2 separate regions of the Homo sapiens genome follow, and region 1 is linked to region 2. Evidence: promoter capture Hi-C in 16 types of primary human blood cells and fetal thymus (Javierre and others, 2016). All regions are on one chromosome and are shown on one strand. Each heading gives the region's core, a stretch centred on a gene start or on the middle of the fragment in contact. The rest is flanking DNA. Distances are from core to core; before and after follow the strand shown. Region 1 overlaps KLHDC1 (kelch domain containing 1). Region 2 holds the start of SOS2 (SOS Ras/Rho guanine nucleotide exchange factor 2).

Region 1 (4,074 bases), core at 883-3,382, 530 kb before region 2:
GGCCGAGGCGGGCAGATCACCTGAGGTCAGGAGTGGGAGACCAGCCTCACCAACATGGAGAAACCTCGTCTCTACTAAAAATACAAACGTAACTGGGCATGGTGGCACATGCCTGTAATCCCAGCTACTCGGGAGGCTGAGGCAGGATAATCGCTTGAACCTGGGAGGCGGAGGTTGCAGTGAGCCGAGATCACACCATTGCATTCCAGCCTGGGCAACAAGAGCGAAATTCTGTCTCAAAAAAAAAAAAAAAAAAAGATAACATCCCCATTGAAAAATGAGCAATGGATAAGTGCAATTTACAAAATAAATACAAATATACAAACAAAGGAAACCCAGGTAAAAATTACAATGAGGTTTTTCTTCTCCAATTTGCAAAGATGAGAAAGAATTCTGGCAAAGAGTGTGGAGAAATGAATTACTAGTACACTGGTAATAAGAGTACAAGTTTGTGTAACCTTTTTGAGGAGAAATTTAGCAATGTGTATCAAAAATGTAAGATGTGTTTTCTCTTTAACCTAATAGTTCTACTTTATATATTCATAAATGATCACATTGGTCATCTATGTTATATGGAAGACATTTATCATTCTTTTTAAATGACCAGAATATAAACCACCTTTCTCTATTTGTGGTATTCCCCTAGTGAGTGAATATTGTCAGGGTATTTATTCTAGTTGTCTCCTACTTATCCTCATAAAATATAAGATATGTAACTTGTTCTCTGTTGTATCCTCAATGTCTAGAACTGGTTACAGCTCATAGTAGGTGCCCAATAAAAATACCTGAAAGTCAGGTACTAACTTTTCCTGCCTTACTTGCAGCTAGGTTGCAGGCAAGTGGCTAGGACTCCATTGGTTAGATGAATCTGTGCTAGATTTGGACTTCGGAATAAAGATATAAAAAACCACGACCTCTAGAAGATTCTTAGCCTGCAATACAGTTTAGGAAGATCAAGTTTCCTTGCATAAAAGGCAGCAGTGTGGTGTGCACCAGTGACCACAGACCTGCTCTCTTGGCATGGTTTCACACCTCACTCTTCCTTGCATCGACCAGAGGCTGGTTCTCCAGCCTCCCTGATGATTCTGTGAGCTACTTAATATTCGTTTCTTAAAATTTTATTTACTTAATTTTTGAATTTGAAATATATATACAATAGAATGTATAAAATAAGTATTATTTAAATATAAACAACTGTTTACTTTCCAGATTAAGAAATAAACAATACCTTTATTGTTTATTATGCAGGATAAAAGCTTCCTTTTATCCTGCATTGATTACATTGCTCCCACTACCCCCACTCATACAGGTTACCACTATCTTAAATTTCTTTTCTCTATAATTTTACTTCACATACATCTCTAAACAATATATTATTTGGTTTTGAATCATAGCATATGTTTTCTTTCATGAATTTTTTTTTTTTTTTGAGACAGAGTTTCGCTCCTGTTGCCTAGGCTGGATTGCAGTGACATGATCTTAGCTCACTGCAACCTCCGCCTCCTGGGTTCAAGTGATCCTCCTGCCTCAGCCTCCCAAGTAGCTGGGATTACAGGTGCCCGCCACCACACCCAGCTAATTTTTGTATTTGTAGTAGAAACGGGGTTTCACCATGATGGCCAGGTTGATCTTGGACTCCTCACCTTAGGTGATCCACCCACCTCAGCCTCCCAAAGTGCTGGGATTACAGGTGTGAGCTCAGCCTCTTCCATGAATTCTTTTAGTTTTCAGATTCATACATTGCTTATAGTCAACTGGTGTGTGCTTGTATGGCTGTACCTGTTGTTGTTTGGCATCTATTCTGATTGGTCAATGCCTGTGCTGCCCAGTTGTTAAATAATTTGAAAATCATCATCTCTAGATCCATTCATTTGATGTATATCCTGTATAACATTCTACTCTATGAGTTTACTGCAATTTATCCATTCCATTATTGGTGAATATTTGAATGTTTCTAATTTTTTGCTATTGTAAGCATTCTTATAACATGCTTCCTATTGTATATTCACAAGGGCATGTACATTCCCTAGGGAATCTACCAATGAATGAAATGTTGGATCACTTGATATGCACATCTCCAAAATTATTTGGAAATGTCAGACTGTTACCAAAATATTTGTATCAATTTACACTCCCACCAGCCATTTCCTTGCCCCATATCCTTGGCAACACATTTGGTACCATCTGGCCTTACGTTTTTGCCGTTCCAGTGAGTGTGACATGATAGTTCATTGTGGTTTTTGTTTTCATTTCCCTTGGTTACTGATAAAATTGAGCGTCTAACTTTATGGACTATTTGTGTCTTTTGTAAAAATGCTGGCTCATGTCTTTTGCTCATTTTTCTGTTGGATTATTTGCTTTTTTTAACTAATTTATACAAGTTTTAAAATACAAAATTGTGTGAGTTGAATATGTCTTCAATTTATAGCTTGTCTTTTTATTTTTTTTCCTTTTCTGTTTTTTTTTTTTTTTTTTTTTTTTGAGACAGAGTCTCGCTTTGTCGCCCCGGCTGGAGTGCAGTGGCGCAATCTGGGGTCACTGCAACCTCTGCCTCCCAGGCTCAAGCAATTCTCGTGCCTCAGCCTCCTGAGTAGCTGGGATTACAGGCACCCGCCACCATGCCCAGCTAATTTTTTGTATTTTTAGTAGAGGCCAGAGTTTCACCATGTTGGCTGGGCTGGCCTTGAACTCCTGACCTCAGGTGATCTGCCCACCTCGGCCTCCCAAAGTGCTGGGATTACAAGCATGAGCCACTGTGCCTGGCCTTGTCAAACATATTCTAACCATTCCTAGAAACAGGAAGAAAAGGAGTCAAGGGAGAATTCTTTTTTTTGAAAGGTGAGATGAGACATGTTTGTATATTAATAGGAATAATCCAGTAGAGAAGGAAAACTTGGACTGGGCGCAGTGGCTCACTCAATCAATAAATATTTTATTTGTCTTTTATGTGTGAGGCACTGTAGTAGGCTCTGGGAGCGTAACAAGATAGACAAGATCCCTGTACTCATGAAGCTTACAGTTTAGCAGTATTGGTGGTGGTGAGGGTGGGTGTGATACAAAGAACTTCAAAGGGAAAGTACAGGACTATGAGGGCCTCTAATAGGGGACCTTAATACTTTAAGCTATTTTAGAGAATAGGTTAGAGAAGTACATTTAAGCTGATTCCCAAAAAAGGAGGAGTTAGGCAAACTCTGAAAGAGTACTATAAGAGAGAAAAGAGAATAGATGAATGGTCCTATCATAGCAAGGAACTAGGAGATGTTTAAGTACTGAAGGCGTACTGTGTGTGAAAGGCAACTTGAAGTTTCGAGGGATAGCAGCTACCATATAATACAGAATCATAAACATTTTAGACTATGCTAAAAGCAATAGGGAGCCATTGAAAGGACTTAAACAGAGTAATGACAATTCACTTTCATAATATTTCTTTCTTTCTTTTTTTTTTTTTTTTTTTTTGAGATGGAGTCTTGCTCTGTCACCCAGGCTGGAGTACAGTGGCATGATCTCAGGTTACTGCAACCTCCGCCTCCCAGGTTCAAGCAATTCTCCTGTCTCAGCCTCCTGAATAGCTAAGACTATAGGCGCCCGCCACCACACCTGGCTAATTTTTTTGTATTTTTAGTAGAGACAGGGTTTCACCATATTGGCCAGGCTGCTCTCGAACTCCTGACCTTGTGATCTGTTCGCCTCAGCCTCCCAAAGTGCTAGGATTACAGGTGTGAGCCACTGTGCCCAGCCTATAATATTTCTTTTGTAAAGGAGTACACATGAGGCTACTGGAACCTAATGCCATTAAACCTTAGACTCATACAGTAGCTCCCCTTCTTATAATTATTTGTTTACTTAGCCATTTAATATGGATTCCTCAGTCAGACATGAGTGTAAGTTTATGTTTTTTCACTGATTGAAAAATTTTTTTAATTTTAATTTTTGTGGGTACATAGTAGGTGTATATATTTATGGGATGCATGAGATATTTTGATACAGGCATGCAATGCATAATAGTCACATCATATAAAATGGGGTATCTGTTCCCTCAAGTATTTATCCTTTGTGTTACAGACAATCCAATTA
Region 2 (3,979 bases), core at 1,274-3,773:
ATTTTACAAAGACAAGGTGGCTGATGCATACCAGAATTTAAAACTTCCTGCAAAGAAAGAGTGAACCTTTAGCTCCCTAAGAGCTACAGCTCTTAGCAGGCACTACAGACCTACAAGTTGCAATGTCCTAAATACCATAAAAGTGGACATAATCTTAATTACTTTTACCAAAATTTTTCCAAAAATATAAAAAAATTTTCCATACGTATGTATTTCAATTCTATCACAACAGTAAGTTAATAGAAAATGTTTTCTGAATTCACCTCAAAAGACCAAATTTTCTTAGATGTATTTATTTCATAAAGAACATACTAGAACTGTGGAATATAACATAGTATCTACAAGGCACCTGAGTTCCAGGAAAACAAGCACAATATAAATGCAAAGTAATAGCACCAAAGCAATGGACTAGGATTGGATGCTAATCTTGGCTTCTCCAGCCTAACTTGAAAAAAAAAAAAAAAAATCTGGGTCTGGTGCGAGGTGGTTTATGCCTGTAATCCCAACAGTTTGGAAGGCAGAGGTGGGCGGACTGCTTGAGGCCAGAAGTTCAAGACCAGCCTGGGCAACATAGCATAACCCTGTCTCTATTTGAAGAAAAAGAAAACATAAATCTGTTTCTGGACATAAAGGATTATTAGAATCAAAGCTACCTATTGAACAAGTTATGCAACACACACCCAAATACTATTTGCTACCAGAAAGTTATAAATGGGTATATACCTGCGTCACATTGCCAACAATATAGGCCTACCTGATTACTGCACTCACACTTGTCTGTGGTCAAAGGGCTAATTACTATCTAGGCATTTCCCCCTTTGCTTTTAATTCAGGCCAGAGTTCATTTTCACCACTCAGCACACTTTTCATTTCTTTCCCTCTCCTTACAGAATTGGGCTGCACATGGAAGTAAGGTCAATTTAATACTTTAGCACTTGGTATACCAATGGAATAACTGTCTAGCTGCCACTAGTCATTTCTGCCAGGTTCTTTAAAAAGATACGACTTAGTGTTTGCCCTGAGGAAAGCAATACTTCCTTGTAAGAATTATGAAAATAAGGGAAAATCTGCAACTCTCATCGCATGAGGAAAATGTCTTTAACTTTAAAATACACTACTTCCTTTCATTTATAGAAATTTAATGTCTGAGGATATATTTTCCAAGTATAGTCTTTTAAATTAATCTTTATTTTTTCCTTATTTTAGAATGTATTCTTGGTTATTTTGCACAAAAGGCAGAAGAGACTAAGTCTGCATTAACGGCAAAGAAAGAAAGCCCCTGCTCAACAGGCATGACAGCTGATCACGCACCTATTCACAGTCTTTAAATGTCTTGATCTTACAGAAGGATTTATTATAAAAATGATCGTATGGTTACTACCTAAATTCACAGAGGAAGACCGCCACCATCTACAGGAAAGATGCACCCTAGCAATGCACCCAAACATGAAAGACTGATTTGCAGGAGTTGCCCCTTTCTTGTTCCTTAAAATGATTTCAAGTCCTAAATCGCAATTTGGTCGTGAAGACACTGAAGACACTGACCAAATTTTCTAAGGGTAATCTCTTGTAAACAGGTAAGACACCGTTTGCAGGAAGTGGGAAGGCGCTTTAAATTTACCTTGAGAACTGTAAAATGAATAAGAATATTATGACTCACTGACATTTCACACATGTGAAACATCCATATTACAAAAAACCATTGCCTCATAAGTGGATACCCTTGACAAGCAAACCGCCTAGGGGGAACACTCCCAAAGAACTTAATTAAAAGTAATTACCCGGCCTGAAAATGTGCTTTTGTTTTAGAAACTGTCTAAATACCAGCGGGACTTTCTCTTGCCCGATTCCAGCCTGAGGACAACAAATTGGTCAACGGCGGAAGTTGCCTGACGAAATGACTGCAACATGAAATCCAGTTTTATGATCATAACAAAACCTTCCTTCCGGGACCAGGCAAAAAAAAAAAACTTGAGAAACGTCCTTCAGAATGCAACAGGCAATTGTGAGCCCCCCATTGCCAGCCAACGAGAAACGGCTCGGCCCCGGGGACTCGAGCCCTGTGGGAGGGACGACCTGCTCCCCGTTAGAAGCTCGGGGGGCCACGGGCCACCCGCCGGCCGCCCCGCCCCTAGCACTGACCTTCCGCAGGGCCGAGACCAACAGTCCCCGCCATTTCGGACTGTTCTCCTCGCTGAAGAACTCGTAAGGCTGCGGCGCCTGCTGCATGGCCCCGGCGACAGCGCCTCCGCATCGGGGGCAGCCCGCGGGCCGGGCCGGTGGCCTGACAGGCAGGGCGCGGGCCGCCTCGCCTCGCCGGCGGCCGCCGCCTCCCGCCCGGGCCGAGGCTACGGCCGAGGCGGCTCGGAGGCGGCGCCGGCGGGCTGGCGGAGACCCCGGGGTCGGCTTCCTCCGCCGAGGCGGCCCTCGCCTCCCGCAGCGCCCGCAGAGGAAGCGCGGCGACCCGCAAGCCCGGGCGACCCCGGGCGGCGACCTCCTTTCCCGGCGGCGCTGGCCCGCTTCTGGGGCGGCTCCTCCTCCTTTGTCTGGGTTCGCGGCCCGTCAGGGGTACAGCTGGCCCAGCCCCGCCCCGACTCCCGCTACGGCCGCGGCGGGCGGTGAGCAGCGGCGGCGGCGGCGGCGGCTGCTCGTCTCCTCATCGCCTCCTCCCCGCCCTCCCAGCCGACAGCGCCGCCCGGCCCTGCCCACTCGAGTCACCTCCACAGAGCTCTGGGGACCGACCCGGAGTGCGCGTCGGGCGAGCGAGCCTCGCTATGGCGCGCACAGCGCTGGCCGCCGTTGCTGCCCCTTTAGCAGCAGCGCAGAGTGCCTTGGGGTCGCCGCTGAGCCCTGAGTCCCAGCAGCCGAGGCTCGGCCCGCCCCCTCGGCCCGGCGCTCATTATCCCGAATAGCCCAAGAGGCCTAACACGGAGCATGCGCGCCGCGGAGCAGGCACAGGCGCCAGCCCGGCGCGGGGGTGCGGGGCCTGGGGCCCCGGGGGAGTCCGCTTTTCCCGAGACTGTGCTGGGGGCCGCTCCAGACTCTTCAGTTTGACTGCTTTTTACCCATATGCTCCCTCCTCTCGACCTGCTTAAGACAATCCGGACTCGGTGCCACTCTTGTAGCGCTGGAGCCCCAGGACTACCGTCGTGGGAGGCTGCATAGGGACGTGGAGAGAAAGGGGCATTCGGGCTGGACAGGATATTTAACGTATTTGTGCTCTACGTGGCTTGTTTTCATGAGTACCGTATGTTTACACAAAGTAGGTACTATATATAATATATCGTTAGGAGATACAGTAACTATTTCTTAGGGTGATGGTGTGGGGACCGAGAGATGAGGCGTGGAAAGCCCTTAGCCTGGTGGTAGGGTCAGAAGGGGCAGATGACAGTGACGTTGATCAAGCTTGAATTGAAAGGTCCTTCACTTGCACGGGCCCCTGTGCGTTCACAAAATCATATCGTTTTTACAAAACTTTCAAGATATTTTCGAATTGTTTTCTTAATCGTGTCATCCAAATTGTGTAGGCTTCAGGTCCTACAAAACCTGGATCGGCGTCTAGGAAACACTCATTAGCAACCCAGAAAAGATCCTGACAAGCTTTTCAATCCAAAGAGGCATAGGCTCTGGTAACTCATTACCACAAATTTCATCCCACTAAAGAGGCTGAGCACATTACTTTTAACAGGTTGTAAAGAAGATATTTTACTCCCTGTCCCTAGCCACCAGCAGTGAGAAAGGGAAAAGACGAACAGGGTACAAAAAATAAGTCAGTACTACAATTCAGTTCCGGCATCAGTAGCTGAGCAATTATTCTCCCCAAAACATGCACCACTTTTTCATTTGGGCAAAATCAGAATGGCAGAGTTGGAAAATAAGATTATTTTTCTAATCCACTAAAGTATCCACTAAATCAAGAACATCCTCTAATAAATGGCCATATCCATTCACATGTACTTGGGATAAAAGGTGGGATGGT

What was found. The method cuts DNA at HindIII sites, captures the fragments that hold promoters and counts their contacts. A CHiCAGO score of 5 or more calls a contact.
Region 1: a contact is called between a fragment that was not itself captured here and the fragment with the promoter of SOS2 in region 2, in 2 of 17 cell types (non-activated CD4 T cells and M2 macrophages). The highest score is 6.9, in non-activated CD4 T cells.

Annotation. Positions count from the first base shown.
Region 1 is chr14:49,701,931-49,706,004 of GRCh38, forward strand. The region is part of intron 1 of KLHDC1 (kelch domain containing 1); the gene reads left to right. Among named protein-coding and RNA genes, the nearest start is that of KLHDC1, 11 kb to the left of the region's middle. The HindIII fragment of the contact is 1,756 bases long and covers 1,255-3,010 here.
Region 2 is chr14:50,229,055-50,233,033 of GRCh38, forward strand. It overlaps SOS2 (SOS Ras/Rho guanine nucleotide exchange factor 2), which reads right to left and starts at 2,524. Exons shown (of 23, transcript NM_006939.4): 1 at 2,143-2,524. The coding sequence starts at 2,229. RefSeq lists a silencer at 2,116-3,195 and an enhancer at 3,346-3,435. The HindIII fragment of the contact is 6,352 bases long and covers 1-3,403 here.